Linked DNA regions of Homo sapiens: all the other regions are linked to region 1. Evidence: promoter capture Hi-C in 16 types of primary human blood cells and fetal thymus (Javierre and others, 2016). All regions are on one chromosome and are shown on one strand. The core of a region is centred on a gene start or on the middle of the fragment in contact, and the rest is flanking DNA. Distances in the headings are between cores, read along the strand shown. Region 1 holds the start of OSBPL10-AS1 (OSBPL10 antisense RNA 1). Region 2 has its middle 71 kb from the start of GADL1. Region 3 has its middle 34 kb from the start of GADL1. Region 4 overlaps GADL1 (glutamate decarboxylase like 1). Region 5 overlaps GADL1 (glutamate decarboxylase like 1).

Region 1 (2,700 bases), core at 43-2,542:
GCTTTGTGGTTGCCAGTAGATTGGTATTTACATTGCCATGGACCTCTTTCAGACAGAGTTGACCTGCTGACTACTGCTGCCTTTCCATCTATGTACCCCCAAGTTGGACCGCGATGGGGGTGGGGGGGGGGGTCTTCTCTTTGTGCAGATGGACTGAGCTGCAGTGTGGGTGGATTGAAAGTGTCCTCTAAGATGTTTACTGTCAACATGGTGTATGAAACCAGCTTAACTCTGATATTTACTTGAGGCTGGGTAGGAGAATTGTTTACAAATCACATTGGGAGAGAAAGGGCAAGTTCTCAGAGGCTGTGGGAGAGAAAACAGTCCTAGGTCCTTGTTTAAGGTTAGGGCATGGCTTGCTCAGGATTTGTGCCACCAAGGGGCAGTGTGCCAGGCTCCCATGGCCGTCCTTCTGTGGGCGGGACTTCAGGGCCACCAGTCATCCCGGATGACTCAGCTTCTGGGGCACCTGCACCAGCCTTAATTTCCTCTGCTGGAGCCACTGTCTTTGAGAGGAATTGTCAGACACAGAGGGCATGTGCTGTTGATTTACAGTGGGAAAGGATGGAGGGGTTTGTTTTCACATTTATGTGTGTACTCCGTATCATGCGGCTGGATCTTGTGGAAGACTTTCTGGCTACTAGAAGTCAGGGACAAGCTGGGTCTAATTTTCGAGTAAGGCAGACAGCTGGAGGAGGTGTGGTCCCCGAAGGTCTATAAACACATCACAGTGAGTGTAGCAGTGAGTGGGAAAGATGAGGATTTCCCCTGCAATGGCTTGTGAGCAAATAGGAAATCACAGCTTTAGAAGAATGAATCATTCTTTGCTTCATGAAGCTTATGGCAGCCTCAGTGGAGCAATTGATTTAGTATGCAGTCCATTCTTGGTGAGAACAGCTAATTTCAAGCAGAAAATAATTGCCCGCAAAATGGAGCTACTTCTCCTGTTGAGATGTTTAAGGACTTTGCAGCCCACTCCACCTGTTGGGTACACCATGGTGGTTGGATTTCACTTGGTTTTGATTGTCCTTTTTCTTCCCAAAGCAGAATGCCCAGGCACTACCCTCTCCTCCCCCAGCTGGTGCTGGCATGAGAGGAATTCTGCTAATACAGATTACTGCCCACCGGGTCACTGCAGAGGAAGTTGCAGCTATAGCACCTTTGCCATTGGGAGGGATTTGTGTCTGAGCTCTCTGACTTCCGTAGCGTAGACTGGAAATGGAAGCTCACAGGGAGCTGAGACAGCCACCCACTTTCAAACTGACCTGAAATCCAGAAGAGGCAAAAGGGAGGAGAGCCAGGAGGACAGGCCAGTAGAAGGGAGGCCCTGCTAATCTCAGCATTAGCCATTCAGACTCATGGCAGCGGTGGCCTTGGCACCAGGAGCAGTCACGCAGCAGCACGGGGTGTCATGAGGTGGAGCTGGAGGAGACCCCCAGGGCCACTGGCTGTAAGTGCTGGGCTCCTGTGTGCTTCTACCCCTAACTTCCCAGTGTAGAATCAGGGTAGCTCACAGCTCAGAGACTTCCCTCTCTGGCTCTTCCTCTCAGGGTTAGCATAGGTAAGGATTCCTCAATTATTTCAGCATAATCTAGCAAAGCAACTTGCCAATGACGTCAGATAATACCCATTATGAGGTGGCTAGAGAACTGGGCACATAATAAAAGAAAACTCAGCTTTTGGCTGGGGGAATATCCTGTGGGCTTCACTGAGATCTTCCCAACCATCTCTTTAGAATTGGGGTTATTTAGAGCTGATTGAGAACACCTTAGGAGTATGTCTGTGGAAAACGTCTATTTACGTTGAAGTTTTAAAAATGCCTACCCCAGGAGGGAAGGAACACCGTTATTACCTCTCTTTGGAATGTTGGAAAGGAATGGTCCGTGTGGGTATGTAAGGCCAGACAATTTTAAACACCTTGACCACTAAAATAACCTTTGTATGTTAGAAGTGCCTGTAGATATAAGATGATTCTGTCTAATGAGGTTAGTAAATTGTTCGTTTTTTGCATGGACATTTGGACAAGTCTGTATCCTTTCATGTTTAACATCTTTGAGCTTCTGAATTTCTGTATATTATGTCTGACCTGTTATTGATAATTGGAAAGAAATGTATAATGTTCTGTGCAGAGTGCTTTTGCTTATATGTAAGCAAGCATCATAAGAACATAGGTAAATGTGGAGTGTGGAATGTGGATACTTCTTTCAATAGAATTCTGAGGGCAAGTTAACCTTGTAACCAGAGTCCTTAATACTTGGATACTGGAAAATTTTATGTGCAATAATCCCCTTGCCCAGTTTATTAAGTTGCCTGTTTTCTATGTAATGTGAAAAATTGGAATTGAGTGATTGAATTAATAAACTTGCATCGAGGAAAGCAGGGTATGTTGGCCAGTGTGAATCCCAGTAGTATCATAAAGTTTCAGTTTTGCCTTAAATTTTCATTTGTTGTCTTCCTCCCTAAATTAATGCCAATTCTCAGCATTTTCTTATACCTGCTAGAGTGATCCTAATTGATTTGGGTAGAAATAGTCTTAGAGCACGTTTTTCCATAAATAATTTTAGTCCCTGGATAATCCAACTTTTACTTATAAACAGAAAAATTTATATTAGATATGAAGTGGCCTGGATTGTGCAAGTTAACAGGAGTCTAACTTTGGTAAACTCCTACTTGCTAATAGGCAAAATGAAGGGGGCTCAT
Region 2 (2,700 bases), core at 71-2,570, 740 kb after region 1:
GCAATAGGGAAATCTGTGGGTCTTTCTCCAGGGTTAATCTATTTCTACAGGAAATATTTCCAATCACCTGCCTAGTACTTACAGACTTGTAGGCTAGCATGCTGTAAACGGGTAGAGAAGGATGGGGATATGCCTGTTAATTATGTAGCTATTTCCTTAGCTCTCTGTTTTCAATATGGTGCCTCGCCATACAGGAACTGGACCTACCCTCATTGAATTTATTTAGAGAAAAATATTCTGTCTCTGTCTCTGGTAGGAGGAGGCCATTTGGTAGCTGAGGGTTCAGGAGAGAGGATCTCCTGATATAAGCTTTTTACCAGTTCTTCTGCTGTCTGCCCTACCCTTCATCTGGCAGCTCTGCTTTCGGGGGTTTTTGGGCTCCACAATCTGAATATGCTTTCACATTACCGGCACGCTTTATTTTTTTGCCAAGTTACTTAACACTCATTTATCATTTTCCACCTTTCTCTAATATTGTCTTCCCCATTTTTTGTCTTCATGGGCTGACTTTTTAATCATTTATAAATCAACGGGCTATAGAGACACTTTTGAAGTTGTTTCATGTAAAGGATCATTTTCCTGAAACATTTTATCAGACTCTCATCAATATTGAGTATCACCTGCCACTTTTTAGCCCTCGATTTCATGGGATCTTTCTATAGCTTCCTTATACTTGTTATTTATTACTCAGAAAACCTTAGTGTTATCCTCAGATGTGAAAATTTTCCTGTGTTCTGCTTCTTTCTTGGATAATGTCAAATAAGACAGGGACTTGAGAACTTAATGGCTAACACTCTTCAATCCAGAAAAGATCCCATTTTCTCTGCTTAAGACGTATTCCCATTTTTAAGCCCTAGCATCTGTACTGAGATCCTTGTCTCCATGTGCTCCTTTTCCAGTTTTTCTGGTCTCTTCTTCTCTTCTAGCTCATCACCACTTCCTTGTGCTCACGTACAAGGATTCCCCAGGATGAAATGCAAACCCATTGCCTATTTTTACCACCTATCACTGAAGTAGGTAGGTTTTATGAGGCTTCTCTAAGCTTATCTACCTTGATAACTCCCTCAGCCACTGTGAATCTATAGTATATAGTGCCACATTAGATGTTTGAGTTCCAAAAGAAAGTTGTAGTATTGGGCTTAAACAAAGGAAAGAGAAAAAGAACCCACAAATAAATCCTACTTAGGCTTTTTCCTCATCTTTCTTTTGTTAGACTCAGCTAGCCCCTCTTAAGGTCTCTTGTATCTGAATTCTAGCCACCTCCCAACAGATCTTTGCTCCTTCTGTCTGTCATCTTATTTTCTTGTGGTCTATTCTATTTTAGTAGCACTATTCCCTAGCATACGTTTTATAGTATAAAAGCTATGTTCTTAGTCTTCCAGGGTGCTACTTCTTGGAAACCATAAATTCTTTCCTGTCTCAACAAACTTGACTCTTGCAGAGAGAAAGAATGGTTTTGCTACTGTATATATACATATGCATTCAGCACATCAACTGATCTTTTTTCTTGGCTGTGTGTTTTCTCATCTGTAAGGGCAATACATATAGAGAACCATCCTCATGAACAATGGGAGAAGGTAATGCGTAAAGGAAGCTTGAGAGGCTATATCAGTTAACTGTGATACAAATCCCAGCACCATACAGCAATAATCACTTATTTAATTCACAAATATAAGGGCTGGCTGTGAGTCAGCCAATCTAGGTTGTGGTTGGCTGTGAGTGGCTCTGCTCTAGGTGTTTCTGTTTCTTTTCTTGGAATCAGGTGGCTAATACATGTTCTCACAGCTGTGGCAGAAGACTAAGAGAGCAAGCCCAAACATGCAAGCATTTTTCAAGATGTTGCTTACAGCATGTCTGCTAAACTCCCATTGGCCAAAGCATGTCAGATGGCCAAGTGCAGAATCAAAGCACCTGAAGTACAATCTATCTACTGAAAAGATGGAGGAAGAAGTGATTATTTTAAATCTACTTGTGTACAGAAGAACAACTTTCTAAAATCTCAAAATATCCCATTCAGTAACTTGCCTTAGTTGAAACAGAAGGGAAAATACAGAGTTTGAATTTAAGTCTGAATACTTTCAGAACCTGTGCTGCCTCCATCATGCCATTGGATGGCAACTCATTTTCAAATTTTAGAAGCAAAATCATGTTTAAAAAAAAGACAGTTTAATAGACCTCAGAAAAAAACAGTCTTCTCTGAAATCCCTAAACTCATTACTAGTGGCTTAATTGCTAAGAAAATTAAACAGTGACAAGAAGAAAAAAAAAGTTTATCTTCTTCTATCTCTTACCACAATACAAAACAATCAGCAAAGATAACATTTCCTAAATTTTTGTTTAATTATCTAGAAGTTTGATGGGAAAGAATGTTTCATAATTTATAAGCCAATTCTTGTTTAGCCAGATTAGGTCTTTAATTCTTGCATACTATAGCAACTATAAAATACAATTACATGTTACATAGGAAACAAACCTATAAAACAAAACAAACCAATCAATATAGCCCATTCCCCGTAGAATTCTGTTTGGTATTTTAATGAGGCAAACTCCCAAACTAAGAATCAATATCTGTTATGATCCTTTTGAAAGGACTAGTGGTCACATCTTTTTCCACGAGTATCATCAATAGAAATCTTCCTCTGGCCTGTTTCTTTGAGGCCTAGACAGTGGCCCATGGCAATCATGCTAGGATGATCTCAT
Region 3 (2,700 bases), core at 40-2,539, 780 kb after region 1:
GCAGCCTTGCCAGCATCTGTTGTTTCCTGACTTTTTAATAATCACCATTCTAACTGGTATCTCATTGTGGTTTTGATTTGCATTTTTCTAATGACCAGTGATGAACTTTTTTTCATGTTTGTTGGCTGCATAAATGTCTTTTTTCGAGAAGTGTCTGTTCATATCCTTCACCCACTTTTTGATGGGGTCGTTTGTTTTTTTTCTTGTAAATTTGTTAAAGTTCCTTGTAGATTCTAGATATTAGACCTTTGTCAGATGGGTAGCTTGCAAAAATTTTCTCCCATTTTGTAGGTTACCTGTTCACTCTGATGATAGTTTCTTTTGCTGTGCAGAAGCCCTTTAGTTTGATTAGATCCCATTTGTCAATTTTGGCTTTTGTTGCAGTTGTTTTTGGTGTTTTAGTCATGAAGTCTTTGCCCATGCCTATGTCCTGAATGGTCCTTTCTTTCACTTTTTAGTTGTATTGTTTCAACTCTATCAAAACATACAACATTTACAAACTATTTTCCCCCCATTACCACCACTTTTTTGTCTCCGATATATGTCTTCAATATATGAGTATGGAAAGATAACATGGAAATATGGGGTCTATTGAGTATATATATACTCAAAATTTTGACAGCATTTTCCCAATCATCTCTTGGTCATACTCTAGCCAATTTTTCAAGAACATATGAATATTCTTTCAGTTCATAAATGTTTAAATTTATTCTTCAATAGCTTTGATTCTAGAACTTTGATTAAAAAAAATCTTGGCTGACTATCTTTGAGCTTTGAGAAAATGTTGCTTCAATTTTTAAAATTGTGCATGTTGCTATTGAGAAGTTTGATACACACCATTTTTTTCTGTCTTTTGCAAATGACTTTGCTGTTTTACTGAGAGATCCATGGTATTTCTTCTTTATCTTTACGATTTAATGATTTTCTAGGTTATAGCTTGAAATTGACAATTCTCAGCACACAGTGGGCCTTTTCAATACGTATTCTAGAATTTTTTTCCTCTGGAGTGTTTTCTTGGATGATGTTTTAAAATATTAGTTATATCCCATTGTTTTTTCTTCTTCATGGATTCCAATTATATTTATTTCAAGAATATTTGTACTGGCTCTTGGATCCTTTGTTTCACTTTCTTATAACTGTTTTCGTTCATCTCATCAGAGCTCCTTATTTTTAATCGATTTCATTTCCCCTTAGGGAGTTTGATATTTAGTCTGATATATATATATTATTTTATTTTATTTTGAGACTGAGTCTCACTCTGTCACCCAGGCTGGAGTGCAGTGGCACAATCTTGGCTCACTGCAATCTCAGACTCCCAGGCTCAAGCGATTCTCGTGCCTCAGCCTTCCGAGTAGCTGGGATTATAGGCGTGCACCACTGCGCACGGCTAATTTTTTTTGTTGTTGTTGTATTTTTAGTAGGAATGGGGTTTCACCATGTTTGCCAGGCTGGTCTCAAACTCCTGAACTATTACAGGCATGAGCCACCATGACCGGCCTAAATTCAAGTTATTTTCTGAGTTTGATGATTTCACATTCCTATTTTCTGCTTATCCTAGTCGACATTTCTTATTGGAAGTGTTCTCATATTTGCAAATACTTATTCATGACATATCACGTTGCAGTGTTGTTTTACAGTTTTATTCTGCTGTTTCTTTTTTTAGATCATGGTCATCAGGTAAGAACAATTCCCATTTTCTTTGTTCTTGTTATAATTGCTTTATATGGATGTTGCCTATCTTGTCTTTAAATGTCTGGATTTAACTGGATCATCAATTAAAAAAAACAGCAAAGGGTTTGGATGGCTCACAGGTTTCTTAGTGTAAGAGTGCCCTCAGCTGGGCACGGTAGCTCACGTCTGTAATCCCAGCACTTTGGGAGGCTGAGGCGGGTGTATCACTTGAGGTTAGGAGTTTGAGATCAGCCTGGCCAACATGGCAAAATCCTGTCTCTACTAAAACTACAAAAATTAGCTGGGCATGGTGGCATGTGCCTGTAGTCCCAGCTACATGACAGGCTGAGGCAGAAGAATCCCTTGAAACCAGGAAGTGGAGGTTGCAGTGAGCTGAGATAGCGCCACTGCACTCCAGTCTGGGCAACAGAGCGAGACTCTATCTCAAAAACAAATAAACAAACAAACAAAAAATGAGCGCCCTCTTCTGTCAGGGCAGTGAGGTGCGTTTTCTTTAATATGTGGCATTTGTGGGGGAGTAGAAGGGTTGAGGTACATTCAGATTCTGTTGTACCCATTTGTTCTATAAGTCCCAATTTCTGCCAGTTGGGTTTTTTTTTTTTCCTTCTAAGACACTTTTCTGTTCTCAGTTGCCTACTTTTTCCCCAGAAAGGGTACTTTATAAAGACTTCTAAACCATGCATTTCAAGACTTTAGATTCGTCCATAGCTAGAGTTCTGTGCCACCAGGTCAGAGGTGACCTGACAGCGAGCTCACTAGTTATTTGCCAACATTAGAACATGCAGCATTCTCCAGATTAGAGGGCATTGACATCTCTATCATATAGATTATTTTTCATTATTGAATATGGTGTGTCTATATATTAATGTAGGTCTTAGGTAATTATCTCAATAAAGTTTTCTAGATTTTAGTGTAGAGCACCTACATGTTTTACAAGATTTATTCGATTCTGATGATTATGTCTTTTAAAAGCAGCATATGGTAAGTTTTATTTATACAGTCCAACAA
Region 4 (2,700 bases), core at 91-2,590, 940 kb after region 1:
TCAAGATTGCCATTCAAAATATTGACCATAGGTTTGAATCTAATTGGTAGAGCTACTAGGTGGAGGGGATGCTCTAGTGATAAGGTAGAAAAAGTGTTCCAGATTTTTTACTTACTGGTCTAATGATGTTACTTTGTCTACTTCCCTCACACACAAATGGATATGTCTAAAAAAATCTCATTCCTTTTTTAAAAAGTTACTACAGACTGATGAGGATTGATAGTTTCAATTGGATAAAGTTTGGTTTAGACTCAGACTTCCTGGACACAGAACAAAGATCAGCTTCAGATTCAGGGAAGGAAGCTTACTCAATAATTCTTTGCACTAAAAATTTGGCTAGTATAGGAGCTAAAATATACCATGCAGTAAAAATAAACATATCTATCCCCCAGGTTCTGTAGTTAATTGACTGCGAAAATGTGTGTGCGCCACCGACACTGGGTGCCTGGAAGAAGACTTGGCTACTTGTTTTGTCAATAAGTCCCACATATATTTGGTTAACTTAGTTGTTTGTGTCTAGAATTCACCAATATTGAGTCAATTTTAGCTTAGCTTGTTGAGGAGCTCTGAGAGGCTCTAGCTGTCTTCTTCCCTGGAGACTCAGAATTCTCATTGCTATCCACGATAGAACATCTCTCAATATATAATGTGATAGAAATATAGCCTGATTTAGAGGAAAGCTGGAATTTTATTAAAGTAAATAAAGCATACAATATAAAGATTTACGTCCAGGGTCTCTTCAGAGATCCTTCATTAAATGCCTATATGAAACCCGATAGCTTTTTTCCATTCAAAATATACAATACTAGTTGCAAAATGTTTTGTGGGTTGTGTTCTGCATGGTAAATTTTAATCCTTGTTTTGCCAGTCTAGGTAAATATTTATTAGCCATTGATTTTTTAGAACAGCACAGGACATCAGCCTTTAATTTTCTAGTTGAAGCAGGAATGGCCAGTTTCCCTATGTCCTTTCCTTTCTACCAAATGACTGCTTGACATCTTTATCAGTATATTTGAGGCTCCACAGGCTGCCCATCATCACCCTGCCCCCACCTGAAGAAAAACATGTGGAGAAGTCCCAAGATTAGAGAATCAATTCAGGGCCAAGTCACATAACCAAAACCACTCATTGCTTTACAAGAATGATTTCAAATAGTATTCCTTCAAATTAGAAGCTTCACTAGCCTAAATCCTTTGGAATGTTTGTCAGAGCACTTAAGATACGTAGTAATTATTAAATTTGGAGTCTGGTATGGTGAGAGGAAGATAACAGATTTTGTGTATAGATGGCCTGGAAGATGGTAAGAGAAAGAGGAAACAGAAGGAAATATTGCTGGATGTGGTTTGGAGAGTTTTATGTAAGATGTTAGGAGGAATGCCAGCTAGACACAGTCTGTTGGTAGCTAGAAGTTGGTGGCTATGACAAGTTCAGGGTTGGACAGAATTTAGGAGTTTCACAGAGTGATACAAGTCCCTGAAAATGATATTTAAAAGAGACTAAAGCTTAATGAAGAGAAGCAAAAATTGAGGAACATCTATTGATAAGGCACAAAGAGATGTAAGGTCAAGCCAGTAAGTAACTGGGGTATGAGTAATATGTATTGCTATGGAAACGAAGGAGATGAACCTCGAGGAAGATGATTGTGCAGGAAGGAAGTGTCCTACAGGGAAGCATTAAACTTCATACCAGGGTATGCCTTCTCTTTCTGGTACATCCAAGTTTTCTTTGAAAGAATTATTTCTCTAGAAACATGACTTATTGACAATACTGTGAAACAATCACAAAACTTTAGTGATATGAGACAATAAGCATTTATCACTCATGAATCTGCAGGTAAAAAGGAGATATTAGGTAGCTAATTTAGGCTGGACTTGGCTGGCAGTGGCTGTGGCTCCGTGAATCTTTCTTCAACTTACTGAGGCATGTTCTTATGAGTGACAGAGGCATAGAGCACAAGTCCACCTGCATAAGAGCATTTTGTGAGTCTGTTATATCTGCCGACATTAGCTTGGCCATAGTGAATCTCATAACTAAGCCCAACCTTAAAAGATATTGGAGACTATGCTACAGTTAGCCAAATCCAGCCATATGCACAAACCCAGTGGCAGTCGAGCAGGGAAATGTTACTTCTAAGGAAGTGAAGTAGTGAGGATACATATGCGTATTTCTGAAGAACCTAATCTACCACAAATAAAGATGGTCACTTTTAAAAAACAGGTTTAGGCATAGTTCAGCAATGTACAAAATGTGGAATAAAACCTAGTGACAATTCAAAATTAGGCTTTAGCTTACCACAGTGTTACTGTGGGAACGTGTCTCAGTTCAATTCAGCAAATGCTTTGTGCCAAGCACTATGGGAAATATCAAAGGTGAAAATGACATAGCACCTTCCATCAAGCTTTCAACTTGAGGAAAAGATAAATGTTTCTAAGAGTTACTGTAATAAAATGTCCAGTGTAACAAGAATTATGAGCAGGAACAAGTACTGGAGGTACAGAAAGAAGGGCAAGAGCTCCTCTTAGCTATTGTTTAGAAATCAAGTGCAGGGAGTAGAATATACTCTGGCTAATTTTGGAAGAAAAAGATTTATAGATAATTAAAGATTTACATAATCATTGTGAGAGCTAAAGAGACAGATGTCTAAGTCCTACCCTAGAACTGGGCTGCCCAGGGAGCTGCTGCTTCTGCTCCAATCTGCAG
Region 5 (2,700 bases), core at 193-2,692, 920 kb after region 1:
GAGATGTTTTAAGAAGACAGGAGTCTGACTTGCATGTTAAAAGATTATTCTTGATGTCATGAGAAGAGAGGAATGTTGAAAAAGCAATAGTGAAGAGGACAAGAGAAAAATAAGCAAGACAAACTTGGAAACTGTTTTTAGTAGCCAAAGTGAAATATGACAATAGTCCTCAGGGAAGTTTGGGAAATACTTTCCAGAGAATCTAGAGCATGGATTCCCCTAGTATCTACAAAGGAAGCATCAGACTAGAAAGTTCTAAGCTTCCAAAGTGCTAGAAAGCTAGACATATGGAAGATCTTGCATGCATACCAAAATGATTAAAAATTAAACAACTTTCTGGTAGTACTATAAAGACAACAAATTTAGAGTGCGAGAAGTTCTGCAGAACAACCTGGTTTCTTTCAACAGGCCGGTGATGTGAGGAAAACAGAGGGAGTAGTGATAATCTCTTTAGGTTCAAAGAGACCGAAGAGGCATAACCAAATAAGGCATATGGACCTTGTTGAAATCCCAGTTTGAACAAGCCAACTGTAAAAAGTAATTCTTGTAACAGTTGGGGAGTTTTGAATATGAACTGGCTATTAGATGGTGTCAAGGAATTGTCAATTTTGTGAGGCATAATGGCATTATAAACATGTAAGAAAATGTCTATAGTTTTTAGTGGTGGATAGCTAAGCATGTATGGGAGAAACAGCAGTCCTATTTGAATTGAGTTTGATCACTTTATATTTTCTCGGGTTTGAGTTTCCTCTATTTTCTCAATTTGAGTTGTGTTATTTTCTCTGGTGTTGGGAGCTATAGTGCTTATGAAAAGTCCTATACACCTTGAAACTGTACAGTCTTTTGACAGAGCTGGAAGTGATGAGAAAAAAGATGGGCCGATTAAAAAGTTCTTTATATATTCTTCCTAAAGTCTTAGAAAAGAAAAACCACTTACCATCGTCATTAGGAAATTGCAAACACTCATGTCCTTGCAATGAAAGCTAAGGTGGGATTTTAGTCAGCCTTCTGCCCCTGGATTTTTTCATCTGTGGGAGCCAGCTGGCCCACAAGCAGTGCAGGTGGTTTTCTAAATGGTTTTCCAGAATTCCTGGTGTAAGGATTTTTGTATGTGATCTGCATTTGCCGCTTTTCTTTTTATTACACTGAGAATAAAGCAGAATTAGACCCTGAATGTCACATATAAAGTTGATAGTCTTTTTGCTTATATGCATTTGTATGTCTATATATGTATATGTACATGTATTTGAGAGAGTATGTGTCACTGTTGTCTAACAGCAAGGAGAAAGTGGAACATTGGAAATTGTAAGTGAACATAACAAGACAATACCCAGTACTTGAGTATTTTTTCCTGGAAAGAATAAAAATAACTTTCAATCATCTTCAAGAAATGTATTATTTTAAGTGAATTCTGAATTATTCATAGGCCCCTGAAAATCATCTCTATTTTTCTGTGTTGGATCTAAGATCTAATAGATGTTTTCCTAGAGGTATATTCATTCTTACACTGTCAATTCACATATTTTATTTTTTATCTCTTGGGAGAGTCCTAATTATTCAACTTTTTCTTTTCTCAAGGTCTACACTAGGAGGAGTTATTAATGTTTCATCAACTGAGTTATAGAAGATCTTCGAGGACATATAGTCAACTTCCTGCACAATGCAGCAAACCTGTCTTAATGTATCTGTTAACAGGTGGTCAACCTGTGATTGAATACTTCCTATTTGCAGAGAATTCACTAGTTCATTCCTCTTCCAGATAGCTCTAATTATTCATGTTCTAATAGTGAACCTACTAATATGTATCAAGCACATTGTGATTTTTCTTACATTGTTATCTTGTAATCTAATAAAACTATATAACTACCTCCTAATTGCTAAATCCAAAGCACATTATTTTAATCTTCATCTTGCTGAAATTCTGTAGCATTGTATGTTACCCATTCATCACTCCATCTCTTGATAGTCTCCCCTGTCTTAGTTTCTTTGATTTCCTTTCCCAATTTCTCTTTTCCATGTGACTTGTTCTTTTCAGTCTCCATGTAAGGGACTTTTCATCAGGGCACTCCCTTAAATATTCTTCTAACACTTTGTCTTTGGCCACAGTCTCCCTGAAATGTCTTCACATTCAGAACTTTGTTATCAATAGCCTCTTTGTATGTCTTCATCCTCAACTTAGCTCCTAAACTCCAGGCCTTTGTATATGAATATTTCCTGAAATTTTCACCTAGATGCCACAGACACCTCAAATTCAACATTTCTAAAAACTTAAGTGTAGTATTTTCCTTACCAAAATTCTACTTTCTTCTTTTGGTCATTAGAACTATGATCCACTAACCAAAAATCTTGATGTTTTTACTATCTCCTTTTCTTCCCCGCTAAGTATATCTTGAATGCTTAGTCTTCTCCACTCCCAAAGCCACTGCCTTAGTTCAAGATCTCATCACTCTTCAGGTTGGTACTATCTAGGTACTGTCTGCTAACTTGTGTCCCACTTCCAGTCTTAGATCCCTCCAGCCTAACTGCCACACTGCTGCTAGAGCAGCTTTTCAAAGATGAGATCTATTTCCTATAGTGAAACTCTCCAGTGACTCCATGTTCCTCTAGAATCAAGCCCAAGCTTCCAAGTACATCATACGAGAAGTCCTTCATGACATGACTCCCATCTTCGTTTCTAGCTTCACCTCTCTTCAGTACACC

Evidence for each region. Contacts are between HindIII fragments. The CHiCAGO score rates a contact against its expected background, and 5 or more counts as called.
Region 2: a contact is called between a fragment that was not itself captured here and the fragment with the promoter of OSBPL10-AS1 in region 1, in 4 of 17 cell types (non-activated CD4 T cells, naive CD4 T cells, activated CD4 T cells and 1 more). The highest score is 6.9, in non-activated CD4 T cells.
Region 3: a contact is called between a fragment that was not itself captured here and the fragment with the promoter of OSBPL10-AS1 in region 1, in 2 of 17 cell types (naive CD8 T cells and total CD4 T cells). The highest score is 5.6, in naive CD8 T cells.
Region 4: a contact is called between a fragment that was not itself captured here and the fragment with the promoter of OSBPL10-AS1 in region 1, in 3 of 17 cell types (total CD8 T cells, megakaryocytes and naive CD4 T cells). The highest score is 5.6, in total CD8 T cells.
Region 5: a contact is called between a fragment that was not itself captured here and the fragment with the promoter of OSBPL10-AS1 in region 1, in 5 of 17 cell types (total CD4 T cells, megakaryocytes, activated CD4 T cells and 2 more). The highest score is 6.5, in total CD4 T cells.

What each region holds. Positions count from the first base shown.
Region 1 is chr3:31,702,805-31,705,504 of GRCh38, reverse strand. It overlaps OSBPL10-AS1 (OSBPL10 antisense RNA 1), which reads right to left and starts at 1,292. Exons shown (of 5, transcript NR_049771.1): 1 at 1,266-1,292. The region is part of intron 6 of OSBPL10 (oxysterol binding protein like 10); the gene reads left to right. The HindIII fragment of the contact is 3,023 bases long and covers 840-2,700 here.
Region 2 is chr3:30,963,910-30,966,609 of GRCh38, reverse strand. No RefSeq gene overlaps it. Among named protein-coding and RNA genes, the nearest start is that of GADL1, 71 kb to the right of the region's middle. The HindIII fragment of the contact is 552 bases long and covers 1,045-1,596 here.
Region 3 is chr3:30,927,598-30,930,297 of GRCh38, reverse strand. No RefSeq gene overlaps it. Among named protein-coding and RNA genes, the nearest start is that of GADL1, 34 kb to the right of the region's middle. The HindIII fragment of the contact is 5,467 bases long and covers 1-2,700 here.
Region 4 is chr3:30,759,157-30,761,856 of GRCh38, reverse strand. All of the region lies in intron 14 of GADL1 (glutamate decarboxylase like 1), which reads left to right. Among named protein-coding and RNA genes, the nearest start is that of GADL1, 130 kb to the left of the region's middle. The HindIII fragment of the contact is 328 bases long and covers 1,177-1,504 here.
Region 5 is chr3:30,782,085-30,784,784 of GRCh38, reverse strand. The region is part of intron 13 of GADL1 (glutamate decarboxylase like 1); the gene reads left to right. Among named protein-coding and RNA genes, the nearest start is that of GADL1, 110 kb to the left of the region's middle. The HindIII fragment of the contact is 2,360 bases long and covers 263-2,622 here.